Linked DNA regions of Homo sapiens: region 2 is linked to region 1. Evidence: promoter capture Hi-C in 16 types of primary human blood cells and fetal thymus (Javierre and others, 2016). All regions are on one chromosome and are shown on one strand. The core of a region is centred on a gene start or on the middle of the fragment in contact, and the rest is flanking DNA. Distances in the headings are between cores, read along the strand shown. Region 1 holds the start of SOST (sclerostin). Region 2 has its middle 51 kb from the start of MEOX1.

What was found. Contacts are between HindIII fragments. The CHiCAGO score rates a contact against its expected background, and 5 or more counts as called.
Region 2: a contact is called between a fragment that was not itself captured here and the fragment with the promoter of SOST in region 1, in 4 of 17 cell types (megakaryocytes, M1 macrophages, M0 macrophages and 1 more). The highest score is 6.0, in megakaryocytes.

Annotation. Positions count from the first base shown.
Region 1 is chr17:43,757,293-43,760,177 of GRCh38, reverse strand. SOST (sclerostin) reads left to right here and starts at 1,387. Exons shown (of 2, transcript NM_025237.3): 1 at 1,387-1,656. The coding sequence starts at 1,437. The HindIII fragment of the contact is 6,420 bases long and covers 419-2,885 here.
Region 2 is chr17:43,609,902-43,612,786 of GRCh38, reverse strand. No RefSeq gene overlaps it. Among named protein-coding and RNA genes, the nearest start is that of MEOX1, 51 kb to the left of the region's middle. The HindIII fragment of the contact is 2,266 bases long and covers 226-2,491 here.

The DNA of each region.
Region 1 (2,885 bases), core at 138-2,637:
CTGCATTCATGTGTCGGATGATGGATGATGGAAAGGAGGACAGTCGGCTGCAGATGGACACAGCGACTTGCAAGTTGAGGCAGGTGGCAAAGGACTTGCAGAGGCTCTGCAGGTGGGGCATGCTGATTCATTGCCCAGTTAAAATACCAGAGGATCTGGGCAGCCTCTTCACAGGAGCTGCTTGTCCTCAAACAATCTGTCTTCAATGAAAGATTCCTCTGGCCTTCCTTTCTCTTCTTGCACCTCAGGTGTGAATCCTTCTCCCCCACGCCTCTACCTGCCCCCCCGCCCCCCGCCCCGGCCCTGTGTGGCTCATTATATGCAGGGCCAAGGCAGCATTTTCTCTTAGCTTCTTTGTGACCACTTGGTCCTGGGATGGCTTCATGGAACACATCCTGTGGTGTGCACCAATGAAGCTTTCCATACAGGACTCAAAACTGTTTTTGAAAAATGTAACCAGCTGGAAGACAAGAAAATAAAATGTCAGCACTAAAAACGCTGGCTGTGGCTTTTGCTAAGGAAAGGAATTTGGTGTTGTCTTCTCACACACACAGACTGGTTGGGGAAATGACTGTCTTCAGCACATCACCCTGCGAGCCACAGTGAGTGCCCTGGCTCAGAAGTGCCTGTCACAGTGCACAGGATCCCTGAGGAGCATGAGCTGGGATTTCCTCTGTGCTGTCCACCACAGGAGCCTGAGTGACCAGCGCATCCTCGATTTGTAACCAGAATCCTGCCCTCTCTCCCAAGCGGGCACCCTTGCTCTGACCCTCTAGTTCTCTCTCTTGCCTTCCAGAGAATACCAAGAGAGGCTTTCTTGGTTAGGACAATGAATGCTGAGACTTGTGGAGTTGGGACCAATGGGATTTCTTTAAAAGCATCTTTTTGCCTCTGGCTGGGTCTATGGGGGTCAAACAGAAACGCCTTGGGCCATTTGTTGGTGGGGTGACAAATGAACTTGGCCTGAGAAATGGAATAGGCCGGGCTCAGCCCCGCGAAGCACTCAGAACTGCACATTTTCTTTGTTGAGCGGGTCCACAGTTTGTTTTGAGAATGCCCGAGGGCCCAGGGAGACAGACAATTAAAAGCCGGAGCTCATTTTGATATCTGAAAACCACAGCCGCCAGCACGTGGGAGGTGCCGGAGAGCAGGCTTGGGCCTTGCCTCACACGCCCCCTCTCTCTGGGTCACCTGGGAGTGCCAGCAGCAATTTGGAAGTTTGCTGAGCTAGAGGAGAAGTCTTTGGGGAGGGTTTGCTCTGAGCACACCCCTTTCCCTCCCTCCGGGGCTGAGGGAAACATGGGACCAGCCCTGCCCCAGCCTGTCCTCATTGGCTGGCATGAAGCAGAGAGGGGCTTTAAAAAGGCGACCGTGTCTCGGCTGGAGACCAGAGCCTGTGCTACTGGAAGGTGGCGTGCCCTCCTCTGGCTGGTACCATGCAGCTCCCACTGGCCCTGTGTCTCGTCTGCCTGCTGGTACACACAGCCTTCCGTGTAGTGGAGGGCCAGGGGTGGCAGGCGTTCAAGAATGATGCCACGGAAATCATCCCCGAGCTCGGAGAGTACCCCGAGCCTCCACCGGAGCTGGAGAACAACAAGACCATGAACCGGGCGGAGAACGGAGGGCGGCCTCCCCACCACCCCTTTGAGACCAAAGGTATGGGGTGGAGGAGAGAATTCTTAGTAAAAGATCCTGGGGAGGTTTTAGAAACTTCTCTTTGGGAGGCTTGGAAGACTGGGGTAGACCCAGTGAAGATTGCTGGCCTCTGCCAGCACTGGTCGAGGAACAGTCTTGCCTGGAGGTGGGGGAAGAATGGCTCGCTGGTGCAGCCTTCAAATTCAGGTGCAGAGGCATGAGGCAACAGACGCTGGTGAGAGCCCAGGGCAGGGAGGACGCTGGGGTGGTGAGGGTATGGCATCAGGGCATCAGAACAGGCTCAGGGGCTCAGAAAAGAAAAGGTTTCAAAGAATCTCCTCCTGGGAATATAGGAGCCACGTCCAGCTGCTGGTACCACTGGGAAGGGAACAAGGTAAGGGAGCCTCCCATCCACAGAACAGCACCTGTGGGGCACCGGACACTCTATGCTGGTGGTGGCTGTCCCCACCACACAGACCCACATCATGGAATCCCCAGGAGGTGAACCCCCAGCTCGAAGGGGAAGAAACAGGTTCCAGGCACTCAGTAACTTGGTAGTGAGAAGAGCTGAGGTGTGAACCTGGTTTGATCCAACTGCAAGATAGCCCTGGTGTGTGGGGGGGTGTGGGGGACAGATCTCCACAAAGCAGTGGGGAGGAAGGCCAGAGAGGCACCCCTGCAGTGTGCATTGCCCACGGCCTGCCCAGGGAGCTGGCACTTGAAGGAATGGGAGTTTTCGGCACAGTTTTAGCCCCTGACATGGGTGCAGCTGAGTCCAGGCCCTGGAGGGGAGAGCAGCATCCTCTGTGCAGGAGTAGGGACATCTGTCCTCAGCAGCCACCCCAGTCCCAACCTTGCCTCATTCCAGGGGAGGGAGAAGGAAGAGGAACCCTGGGTTCCTGGTCAGGCCTGCACAGAGAAGCCCAGGTGACAGTGTGCATCTGGCTCTATAATTGGCAGGAATCCTGAGGCCATGGGGGCGTCTGAAATGACACTTCAGACTAAGAGCTTCCCTGTCCTCTGGCCATTATCCAGGTGGCAGAGAAGTCCACTGCCCAGGCTCCTGGACCCCAGCCCTCCCCGCCTCACAACCTGTTGGGACTATGGGGTGCTAAAAAGGGCAACTGCATGGGAGGCCAGCCAGGACCCTCCGTCTTCAAAATGGAGGACAAGGGCGCCTCCCCCCACAGCTCCCCTTCTAGGCAAGGTCAGCTGGGCTCCAGCGACTGCCTGAAGGGCTGTAAGGAACC
Region 2 (2,885 bases), core at 109-2,608, 150 kb after region 1:
AGCTCCATAAAAGTGGCCATGAAATCGGAATAGTTGGAAATTCTGAAAGGTGAGAGTGAAAAGGTGCAGAGTCCATGGGGTGAGTCACCTTTGGTAGGACACAGAGCTCTAACTGGCACTTCGGCTGCCTCAGGCAAGGGTCTGAAACACACCCTCAAACCAACTTTGGTTTTCCATCTAGGAATCATGAAGGAGGTGTTATTAACCACAGGCCTTCTGGAAGCTTCCTATGGAAGGGCCAAATCCCTTTGTTTCTGTGTCATGCAGGGGTGCATGTGCTGTCAAAATGTTAAAAATGTCACAACAGTTTCACTTTCATCACTTTCCGCAATTATTGTTTTAAATTCCATATCCTCTAAATTTCCAGCCCCCTGGGCAAAGCCCAATCACACTGCCCTGGGTAATGGCCATGATGGGGCGAGGTATCTCTGTGATGGAAACTTGATTGCTTTCTGCTTCATTTCTTGGGTTCTATTTTGCCGTTGACTACTCTTTGTAGTTTACGATTTTTAAAAACTCCATCCTGTCTCCATTTTGCTAAGGAAAATCAAGAAAAGGGATTTGGGTCCACACGTTGGTGAATGGGAGATAAAAGGTAGGCAAGGGGTGTTTAGGTGCCAGAGCAGGGGCAGCAAAGGGATGACAAGTGAGGGACTTTATGTGAGTTGAGATACAGGCTAAGATGCTGGAAGAAACAAAAATATAACACAGAAGAGAATTTTATTTTTCTCTCACTTTAGGGACCAGGGTTGGGCAGGCAACCAGGGCAAACACCAGGAGCTTGTGTGAACACCCAGATTCCTTCTGCTGTGTTACTCCGTCATCCTGGAGTGTTGTCCTTGTCTTCATGGCTGAAGCTACCTCACCATCCATGTGAGCCCACATTCCAGCCCAAGGCAAGGAGGACAGAGGAAGGGAGGACATGCAGCTTCCTCATACCAACTGTCATCAGGAGGTGCCTGTGGCATTTGTGCATCATCCCATTGGCCACAGCTTAGTCACATGATCACATCTAGCTGCAAAGGAGGCTGGGAAATGTGGCCCCTAGTGGGCACCACATGCCTAACTAAAACCTGGAGTGTTCTATTACTAAAAGAAAGAAAGGGGCAATGGGCAATGGGGACAATTGTCTCTTTCTGCCATAAACCCAGGAGGAAAGGGCTATCAGGACCACAAGTGGCACTCAGGGACCAGCAGCCACTCTTCTAGAGTTTCTCACTGGAGGAACATAAGAGGTTCTGGGTTTTGTTTCAGGGAAGCTGTGGTAGATTGTTCTTCAGCTCTTCATGTGACTTACCTTGTGACCTTGGAGCAGGAGAGTGGGTGGAATATATTTCCCTACCCAGCAGCATTGGGCTTGGCCATGTGACCAGTTTGGGCCAATGGGATGTGAGAAGCAACAGCATGCCAGTTCCAAGGTAAAGCCTGAAGTGGCACCATGTTTCCACTCCTGCCATTCACCATGAGAAGGGCACATGCCAAACAGCAACTTGCCCAAGAAAGGGAAGAAACACACGGAGCATACCTAAGGTTAAGCCCAGAGCCAAGTATAGCTCAGCCCCAGCAGAGCCAGCCTTATGAGTGGCGACTCCCCACTCACAGACTCATGAGTGGGGAAAATATGTGAATAAACACTGGTTGATGTAAGCCAGTGTTCTGGGAGGGCTTGTCATGGAGCATTATTGCAGTAAAACTGGCTAGTACGGTGGTTCTGACACCCTGCTAAACCTCGATCCTGTCCCCAACCTTCCTTCTGTCCTCCTTTTTCAGTTCTTCACTCATGCAGGCCAGGTGCAGTGGCTCATGCCTGTAATCACAGCACTTTGGGAAGCCGAGGCAGGTGGATAATTTCAGGCCAGGAGTTCAAGACCTGTCTGGCCAACATGGCAAAACCCCGTCTCTATAAAAATGCAAAAATTTGGCTGGGCGTGGTGGCTCATGCCTGTAATCCCAGCACTTTGGGAGGCTGAGGCGGACAGATTGCTTGACGCCAGGAGTTCAAGTCCAGCCTGGCCAACATGGTGAAACCCCATCTCTACTAAACTTACAAAAATTAGCTGGGTGTGGTGGTGCACGCCTGTAATCCCAGCTATGTTGGGAAGCTGAGGCACAAGAATCACTTAAACCTGGGAGGTGGAGGTTGCAGTGAGCTCAGATCATGCCACTGCACTCCAGCCTGGGTGACAGAGTGAGACTGTCTCAAACATATACAATATTCTAGAATACAATACTCTAGAATACACTACAGTACAATACAATACATAAAACCCACTCATGAAGTCAACGGTCATTTACAAGACACCTGTTATATGCCAGGCACTGATCTAGGTCCTGGGACTAAAGAAACCTTAAGGCATTTCCAGTCTAGGGGGAGGGACAGACATGGAAATACATAATAACACTCTAACACAGCAATAATGGAGCATTATTGCAGTAAAACTCCAAGTGCTGGAACCAGGGTCTGTGCAAGCTGCTGGAGGACGGGGAAGCTTAGCACAGGGCTACACAGAACAAAGAACCAAATCAGCTTTCCTTTGTTTTCTTTTGTTCCCAGCCAGCCCTCCTACCCATCCAGAAACTTGAGCCTGGTCCGGAGTGAGTGCTGGAGTCCAGGAAGTGCTATGGAAGCAGCTGTGAATCAGTTACTGCTCTTTCACAATAACAACCAATGCTTATTGGGCATTTACTAGGTGCCTTCCAGACAGGAAAGGCACATGCCCTGCCCTCAAGGAGATCAGAGTCTCCTCGGGAAGACATTCAGGAGACAAAGTGGTGAGACCTACCCAATAAACAGACAGTTTTTTTGGATAAACATAGATATTGCCCCTTCTGGTCTTAAAGCTTGAAACTTACATTTGTTTTTATCTGAGTTCCTTCCTCAGGAA